2 separate regions of the Homo sapiens genome follow, and region 2 is linked to region 1. Evidence: promoter capture Hi-C in 16 types of primary human blood cells and fetal thymus (Javierre and others, 2016). All regions are on one chromosome and are shown on one strand. The core of a region is centred on a gene start or on the middle of the fragment in contact, and the rest is flanking DNA. Distances in the headings are between cores, read along the strand shown. Region 1 holds the start of DPM1 (dolichyl-phosphate mannosyltransferase subunit 1, catalytic). Region 2 has its middle 140 kb from the start of MIR3194.

Region 1 (4,746 bases), core at 2,247-4,746:
AACAAAAATGCATTTAAATCCCAAATGCGTAAGTTGCTCTTTATCTTTTCAGTTTCTAAACAAATAGATTGAATTTAAGCATTGTTCATGTCTCATCTTTCCCCTACATAATCACAATTCATATCACAGAAAAATGTTCTTATAACTTACAATTCTGTCTGACCCATAGATCTTCTCCAACTGTTCAGCAACATCCCTTGTTCCATCTGGGCTTCCATCATCTATGATTATAATTTCATAGTTGATTCCACTAAAAAAATTAAATTTGTATTAATGACTGATGACAGTGTTCTCAAATTTAAAAGTAATTTAAAAATTACTAATTCCTTAAAAGTATAAATGGAGATGTATTGCTATATTAATCGTTGAGGAAAACTTCAATTATCAAATGAAATAAATGTCAAACATTTAGTACTTTACCTCCAAACCCAGTATGTTGCTGAAACATGCTAATGTCCTGAGATATTAAAGAATTCCTACACAGAGAACAAACTTTTTAGTTCAAAAGAAAATCACGTAATGACCTATGTATCATATGAATTTTTTTTGTTTTGAGATGGAGTCTTGCTCTGTTGCCAGGCTGGAATGCAGTGGCGCAGTCTCGGCTTACCTCTGCCTCCTGGCCTCAAGCAATTCTCCTGCCTCAGCCTCCGGAGTAGCTGGGACTACAGGCGCCCACCACCACGCCCGGCTAATTTTTTGTATTTTTAGTAGAGACGGGGTTTCACCGTGTTAGCCAGCCTGGTCTCAATCTCCTGACCTCGTGATCTGCCCGCCTCAGCCTCCCAAAATGCTGGGATTACAGGCATGAGCCTCCGTGCCCAGCCATATGAAATTTTATTACCTATTTGGAAATAATATTCTGAACCTTAATAGCAAATCTTAGTTACATAAAATATTTCAAAAGTACTTTACATGGTAACTCAAACCAAACTGAGTAACTCAGTGATTATTCTTGTTAATCTGATCCAAATAGAATAATCAAGTATAAATCTGATTTAATTTCATCTTTAAAAAAACCGATTTTAGAATGGTGACATTATCTTAAACCACAATTTCAAATAGTTGTGCCTATTACCTCACATTATCAAATTAAAAAAACAAAAGCAGAGTAGCATTACAAAAGATTCCACTGTGCTTCAGAATTAACATCTGTTACTTCCCATTAATCTCAGGTGGTAGTTTCTAGTCTAAAAACAAACCAACACAATACTTGGTGGATAAATAATACCTACGACATAACATTCCGTTTTCTCTTGGTCCTGCTTTAAGAAACAAATACAAGAGGCTGGGCGCGGTGGCTCACACCTGTAATCCCAGCACTTTGGGAGGCCGAGGCAGGCGGATCACGAGGTCAGGATATCGAGACCATCCTGGCTAACACAGTGAAACCCCGTCTCTACTAAAAAGAACCCGGGAGGCGGGGCCTGCAGTGAGCCAAGATGGCGCCACCGCACTCCAGCCTGGGCAACAGAGCAAGACTCCGTCTCCAAAAGAAAAAAAAAAAAAAGAAAAAGAAAAAAGAAACAAATACAAGAAAATCAACCAGAAAACATATTCCACTGTTAAAGGCTTTAACAAGTCAGCCCCAGCAAACTTTGAAGACAAGAAAGCAAACCCCTGTGTTATCTATTCTCCAAGAGTAGAACAATGACTTTGGCTTCCCACTGTGCCTTAAATCTGGGCACTGGTGCCTTTACATGCCAAAATATGTAAGGTGATTTTAATAGACGTGCTGAAAGAGAAATTCCATAAACAAAATGGGGTCGTTAAAAGCAAATTACTGTCCCCTACCACTTCAAAGCAGCTACACCACCTGAGGGTGAGGCAGCTCAAAGGTACCAAGCTGGGCTGACTTCAAGTAATTTGATTGCATCTGAAAAGTTTTGTTTCCTTTATCAAACTTCATTTTGATCTTAAAAGATTGATTCACAAACCATTAAAAGGAAACATAAATTGTACTACATAAAAAAATTAAAACAGCAAAAAAAAAAATTGCAAAATTAGAATACAAGCCCTGAACGAGATCGGTTGTATGATAGTTACTTTCTTTAATTTAGAGCTTATAGAAATCAAAATTAAAAGATTAAACAGGAAAAATAAAAATTTTAAAACTCTGAGGGGCAAGGCATATGAAGGCAGTTATTCAAGGAAATACAATCAAAACAGCAATGGTTTTCACAAATGAGTACTTCCAACAATGTTAAGTCTAATGCTCAGGCGGGCTGGTTGATAGGGAAACAGGCACTCTGAAGAATGGAGAGTCCAAACTTGTACAACCTTTTTTTTCTTTAGAGCAATTTGGCAGTAACTGTCCATTTTAAGCACATTTCTGTCGACCCAGCAATCCTACCTCGAAGAATTTATCCCTAGTACACAAGTAAAAGTATGAACGCGTCTGCTGCCAACACTGATGCAATAAAGGAGCACCGCTATGTGTCAAGCACTTTTCTAAATTTAGCTGGAAAATATGGTGTGAACAAAGTCCTTGTTCTCATCGACAAAGCAAAAGCCAAAAAACAGAAACAACCAAAAGGCGCTGGAAATAATCCAGTTCATTGCCATGACCTGATTAAATAAATAACACAGCCATATGGAATGTTACCTAACTTCCAAAGTAATTTGCTATGTTTGTACATGTTAATATGAGAAAAAGTCTTCAAAGATTTCACAGCATGATCCCATTTGTGCAATCGTAAAACAAGTTACTTCGTACTGACTCCAGGATTTTTTGCAGTTTTTAAAAACACTGCATTAACACTTCCAAATTCGAACTCCACCCACCCCCCATCCCGGTTCTAACAATCACACCAAACATCCACCAGTGATCAGCGAAGATGCTCTTCTGCTTTCTCCTTTCCAGAAAGGTTATCGTGCCCAGCAATAGCTCCCTAACCCACACACACCAAACCTCATGCTTATGTAAGCACTCGGCACCGGAGCGGAGAGTGAGAGCTCTCGCTTGGACTCCCGGCTCTTGCCGCAGATCCTGACCGCCTAGAGGGAGGAGTGGGATCACGCTTTCAGCCTCGCTTCCAAGTAAAAGAGTGGCCAACCTTTCTACGGAAAGGCGGGGGACGGGAGTACTACATAATAAAGATAAATGAGAGTCTCACAAAACCCAAGGGCAGGAATGAGAACCCAGGACACGAAGAAAACCCAACAAGCATCCGCCTCTGCTTCCCTCGCAGGGTGGCCCTCTCCCCGGGCCTTCCTGTGTGAGGCAAAGAAGGCTGGACAGGGCCGCTTCGCGCAGCCAGCTGCCGACACCCGGGCCGGGGAAGCCAGCTCATCTCATTCTTCGGGGAGGGAGACCTGGTGCGCTACCTCTCGGAGAAGCTTTTCACCAGCAGCCACACGATGAGCGGCAGGTTCTCGCGCTCGTTGTAGGTAGGTAAAAGCACCGAATATTTGTTCTGTCGTGGACTGCGCACTTCCAGCTCCCGCCGAGACCTGCGAGGACTACGACTGACTTCCAAGGAGGCCATGGCGGAACTGAGCCAGATGCCGGAAGCGGAATTACGTAATGTGGCGCGGAAAAGGACGGGTCGGACCGTACCAAATTCGGAAGCGGGGGATGACCTGTGTGATTGATCGCTAGTTCTTCTAGGGCCATTGCGTGGTTCAATTAGAAATATTCTGGATTTATACATCTTTGAAGTTTAATCTGAAGGTTTCTTCAGGAAGTAAATATCTATTCATCACCTTTTCCCAAGCTCCATAAAGTTTTTTAGTTTATCCCAGTCGCTAGGAGACAGAAGACGGAAGCGGAAATGCCTTTCACGACAACTTCCGGAAGAGGTCGCCATGGCTTCCCGGGAGGAGGTACTCGCCTTACAAGCTGAAGTTGCCCAACGTGAGGAGGAATTGAATTCGCTGAAGCAGAAGCTGGCGTCGGCTCTTTTGGCTGAGCAGGAACCGCAGCCAGAACGGCTGGTTCCGGTGTCGCCGCTGCCGCCGAAGGCCGCTCTGTCCCGAGATGAGATTCTGCGCTATAGCCGGCAGCTAGTGCTGCCCGAGCTGGGCGTGCACGGACAGCTGCGCCTGGGGACCGCGTGCGTGCTAATCGTGGGCTGCGGTGGGCTCGGCTGTCCACTAGCGCAGTACTTGGCAGCGGCCGGCGTGGGCCGCCTTGGCCTTGTGGACTATGACGTGGTAGAGATGAGCAACCTGGCCCGCCAAGTGCTGCATGGCGAGGCACTGGCTGGCCAGGCCAAGGCCTTTTCGGCCGCCGCCTCGCTGCGCCGCCTCAATTCGGCAGTGGAATGCGTGCCGTACACTCAGGCCCTTACGCCAGCCACTGCCCTAGACCTGGTCCGCCGATATGATGTGGTGGCTGACTGCTCGGACAACGTGCCCACTCGCTACCTGGTTAATGACGCATGTGTGCTGGCGGGTCGGCCCCTCGTGTCTGCCAGTGCCTTGCGCTTCGAGGGCCAAATCACAGTCTACCATTATGACGGTGGCCCTTGCTATCGCTGCATATTCCCCCAACCACCCCCAGCGGAGACAGTGACCAACTGCGCGGACGGCGGGGTGCTCGGTGTCGTTACCGGGGTCCTGGGCTGCCTGCAGGCCTTGGAAGTGCTGAAAATCGCTGCGGGTCTGGGCCCCTCTTACAGTGGCAGCTTGTTGCTCTTTGATGCCCTGAGAGGGCATTTCCGCTCTATTCGGCTGCGGAGCCGCAGGCTCGACTGTGCAGCTTGCGGGGAACGGCCCACTGTGACTGATCTGCTGGACTATGAA
Region 2 (4,776 bases), core at 1,707-4,206, 360 kb after region 1:
ATGTTGCCCAGGCTGGTGTTGAACTTCTGGCCTCAAGCAATCATCTTGCCTCAGTCTCCCAAAGTTTTGGGGTTACAGGCATGAGCCACTGCATGTGGCCTGACTTTTCAATACAAATCTATTGATATAATTTGGATATTTGTCCCTGCTCCAATCTCATGTCAAATTGTAATCCCTAATGCTGGAGGTGGGGCCTGGTGGGAAGTATTTGGGTCATGGAGGTGGATTCCTAATAGCTTGGTGCTGTCTTTGCAATAGTGAGTGTCAATGAAGAGTGTCAAACTCTGCGAAATATCCGAAGAGTTTATCCTGAGCCAAGTATGAAGGACCAGTGGCCCTATGACACAGCCCCAGGAAATCCTGAGAATATGTGCCCGAGGTAGTCAGGATACAAAATGATTTTATACATTTTTGGGAGACATGTCAATCAATGCATGTAAGATACATGTTGGTTTCGTCTGGCAAGGCGGGACAATTGGATAACTGGAGGAGGCGGGGTTCCAGGTCATAGGCGGAGTCGAAGACTTTCTGACTGGCAATTGGCTTAAAGAGTTATTATTTAAAGACCTGGAATCACAGACGGAATGGTTAAGATAATAGGTTGTAGAGACCCAGGTTTTATCATGCAGATGAAGCCTCCCAAAGCAGGCTTCACAGAGAATAGATTGTAAATGTTTATCAGACTTCAAGTCTGTTCTATCTGTCTTAAGATCTCTGTTTTAATGTTAATGTTGGTCAACTGTGCTTGAATTCCAAAGGGAGGGGGAGGAGGGTATAAGGAGGCATGTCTGACTTTCACTTCCCATGATAACCCGAACTCGTCTTTCCAGTTAATTTTAGAATGCTCTTGGCCAAGGGGAGGGTTTATCAGCAGGTTGTGCGGCTTAGAATTTTATTTTTGCTTTACATGCGTGATCTGGTCATTTAAAAGTGTGTGGCACCTCCTCTCCCTCTCTCTCTTCTTATAAATTACCTAGTCTCAGGTATTTCTGTAGAGCAATGCAAGAATGCCCTAATACATGTGTTGTAGGGGGAAAAAAAAAAAAGGGTTCTTGTCACATGACCAGGAAAGATTAGGCCTGCAGACACTTTGAAGGGTGAGGGGAAATGGAATTTATTAGGCGAAAAGGAAAAATAAATCTCAGTAAAGCAGGAGAGAGTCCTGCTAGAAGGCTTCCCACCTCATAGTTTGAATCCCAGTTTACTATCCAGGAACAGGAGAGGCCAGGTTCCTTTCCCTTGCAAACGGCACAAACTTCTTGAGACTCCACCCCATCCTCCCAGTGCTCAGGCAGGTCAGAGATTCTCCAGGACCTGCAGTCCGGGTTTTTCAGCCTTCAGGCCATTTTAGGCTTGAAGGCGGAGTTTTGTGGGGGGACCCTTGGCTGTCTCCTGTCTCTATGACATGTATTAAATAACTTCAGTCATAAAACAAATTTGAACCAAGCTGGGTAGTAGATGTCAGCCTTTCTGGTACACAGGTTGAGCATCCCGAATCTGAAATCTGAAACGCAAAATGCTCCAAAACTCAAAATGGTGTGAGTGTTGATGCTGTACTCGAAGGAAGTGCTACAGTGAACATTTCAAGTGTTCAGATTTGGGATGCTCAGCTGCTCAGTGTAATACAAGTATCCCCAAATCTGAAAAACTCTGAAATCTGAAACACTTCTGGTCCCAATCATGTTGGATAAAGGATACTCACCCTGCATTATCCTCTGCTCTTTATTGTAGGCTTAAAATACTCAATAATGAAATCCAATGAATCTACAAATGCTCGGCAGTGGCCTGGCTGCAAAGTGAGACCACTAAAGGTTTATTGTTCACAGTGACCTGGCCGCATATCTAGACAGTTGCTTTATGATGGGAAATCTATAGTAAAAACAGGCTTCAGAATAAGATAGATCTGCTGTCTTAAGCTCTTCACGTTACCTTTCCGAGCCTCAGTTTCTTCATCTTTCTAATGGGGAGGATAATGCCAGCCTCATGGCTCAATGATGGCTGTTCACAGGCCCTCCAGGAAAGGGAGCTCTAGCCCTTTGCAAGGAGCAGAGGCCTGAGAACAACCGTATGTGATGGTGTTGGAGAAGCCAGTGTGTGGGAAGCTTCTGCTAAGTCAGCAGCATCAGGGATTTGCAGGATGGCCTGACCAGGAAGCATGTTCCTTCCCCCAGCACTTCCTTCCTGCTGATGGAATTGACATGGGCTGGAATAGTGGAACACACACTCACACATACACACACGTATGCAAACAGCATCCTGCTGGTTTTGATGGATGCGATGCATTGATTGAAATACGATGATTCATCAGCATGAGGGTGGAGGTTCGTTCTCTGAGCTTGTCAGGAGGAAAAGTGACAGGGCCTACAAGCAAGTGCTGGAGTACTGGTTCTCAACCAGGGGTAATTTTTTTCCCCCAGCAGTCATTTGGCAAACTCTGGAGATATGTTTGATGGTTAGAATTCAGGAGATGCTACTGGCATCTAGTGGGTAGAGCCCAGGGATGCAGCTGAACAATCTACAATGCACCGGACAGGCCCTCTAGCAAAAAATTATCTGGTCCAAAATGTCAATAGCGCCAAGGTGGAGGCCCTTTAGAGGGGACCTAGGGGAGAGAAACCTCTTGGAGGAGCTGACATCCCATCCAGGACATGCAAACGGCCCATCAGGGATTAGAAGTATCTTCTAAAGGGCAGCTTCTCCGGAGCTCTGTCTGCAGAGAACACCTGCCCAATCCACTCTTATGAGTGGCCTGCCATATGTGGGAGCCTGGGGGCAAGAGATGGCTCTTTCAGCCTGAATTGGTCACCAAGAGCTCAGGAGCTGGTGTTCAAGGGCAATCCAGGACCCTAACAGGGGCATATGTGGGCACGCTCCAGCCTTGGCGTCCTCACCCATTTGATTACTAATTTTGCAAATGTGAGTTTGGCCCGCGCTGGAGCCATAGCTTACCCTTCAGGTTCATTTAACATTATCATGTGTACAGCCCCACAGGCTGTCCCCATTCCCAGGTGGGCTTGGCTGGGTTCTCTGTGCAGGGTCTCACCAGGCTGATGTGAATGTATTGGCCGGGCTGCACTCACATCTGGAAACTCAGGGGAAGAATTCACTTCCAAGTTCATACGGGTTGTTGGCAGAGTCCGGTTCTTGGTGGTTTTAGGACTGAGGTCCCTGTGTCTTTGCTGGTTGGCTGCCGGGGGCCACACTCTGCTCCCAGGGGCCTCGCGTAGCTGCACAGCCGGCAAATATGCACCGAGTCCATCCATGCTTTGGATCTCTCTGGCTTCCTCTTCCGCCATTAGCCAGAGACAGTTTTCTGCTTTTCACGGCTGTGTGATAGATCAGGGTCATCCAGAAAATTTCCCTCCCTGTCTTAAGGTCAGCTGTGCCGCATAGCACGATCGTGGGACTGTTGCATCCGACTCACAGATGCAGCTTCTGGGGTTAAGGGAGAACATCTTTTGGCACCATTTTTAGAATCCTGCCTATTGCAGTGGCTTCAAAGTCCTAAAGAATAGTCAGATCTGTGCCAACAGCCCCATCAACACCATGGCTTACTTCAGCAACAGCTTACTTGCCACTGCAGCAGATGACAGGGGTGCTTTTGGGCCCAGCTGGAGGGATGTCATCTGCCTGGAGCCAGGTTCTAGGACTCTGTTCCCTGCTTTTCTTGGGCTCTGCCTTCGAGGCCATAGTTCTAGAACCACCTTCCTATAACTCTCCAATACAGCAGCCCTCTGGGCATTTGGCCCAGGATTTCTGTGTTGACTCTGTTGCAGCTTCTTGTCCAAAAGGGCTCATGTCCAACAAGTGCAAGCTTCCCCTTGGGTGGTGACACCTTCCCATCTCTGCGACTGGCGTATATGACCTATTGGCATGACCCCGGCTGCCATTTATGCTTCACACATGTGTAGGAAGGGCTTTGGGAGTGGTCTTTCCTGAGTGGAGATGGCTCTGTCTCCGCACATGACTATCAGCATGGAAGTCAGTAGGATGGAGAGTGATGGGTCTGGAGTGGCTACTGTTCCCACAGGAATTAAGCAGTGACCATAGCAATGTCTCAGTAGAGGGTAATGAATAACATCAGTAGATGGTGGCCATGTTTTACCTTCTCAAATCAGTCACAATAGTCTCAATTCAGTGCATTATTTATGGGCACCCACTACTAGCACAGCCTACAGGTTTCATCAGGCATGCCAACTCCTGTTGATGTTGGCAGCTTACCCAGATGCTTTTACCAAGATAAATTGTGAGGCTGCATTTGGCTGATTGGAAAAAATGCTGTGATTGATTAGTGATGTCTGCCATGGCCAGGGAGGGGATAAATAGGCAAGTGAGACAGGTTTGTCCATGAGCCTAGGCCTACTGAGGATGAAGAGGTAAATGAGAAGGCTGCATTTTAGTGGTTCAGAGCATAGAGTTTAAAATCAGAAAGGCTGGGATTCTGCAGCCAGCTCTGCTCTGTATGTGGATGAGTTACCTAACTTTGCTGTGCCTCAGTCTTCTTATCTGTGAAATATGGACACTAATAATTGTGAGCACTAAATGAGAATGTAAATAAAGCACTCATTCTAGACCGTTCATGATTGCATAAGGATCCCTCAGAGGGGCCAGGCATGGTGGCTCACACCTGTAATCCTAGCACTTTGGGAGGCCGAGGCAGGTGGATCACTTGAGGTCAGGAGTTCAAAACCAGCCTGGCCAACATGGTAAAACCCTGTCTTTACTAAAAATACAAAAAAAAAAAAATTAGCCAGGCATGGTGGCAGGCACCTGTAA

What was found. Contacts are between HindIII fragments. The CHiCAGO score rates a contact against its expected background, and 5 or more counts as called.
Region 2: a contact is called between a fragment that was not itself captured here and the fragment with the promoter of DPM1 in region 1, in 1 of 17 cell types (endothelial precursors). The highest score is 5.5, in endothelial precursors.

The regions. Positions count from the first base shown.
Region 1 is chr20:50,955,036-50,959,781 of GRCh38, forward strand. It overlaps DPM1 (dolichyl-phosphate mannosyltransferase subunit 1, catalytic), which reads right to left and starts at 3,497. Exons shown (of 9, transcript NM_003859.3): 1 at 3,328-3,497; 2 at 151-250. The coding sequence starts at 3,488. It overlaps MOCS3 (molybdenum cofactor synthesis 3), which reads left to right and starts at 3,783. Exons shown (of 1, transcript NM_014484.5): 1 at 3,783-4,746. The coding sequence starts at 3,808. RefSeq lists enhancers at 3,254-3,743, 3,956-4,566. The HindIII fragment of the contact is 3,207 bases long and covers 3,338-4,746 here.
Region 2 is chr20:51,311,315-51,316,090 of GRCh38, forward strand. No RefSeq gene overlaps it. Among named protein-coding and RNA genes, the nearest start is that of MIR3194, 140 kb to the right of the region's middle. RefSeq lists enhancers at 1-599, 600-1,588. The HindIII fragment of the contact is 1,712 bases long and covers 2,101-3,812 here.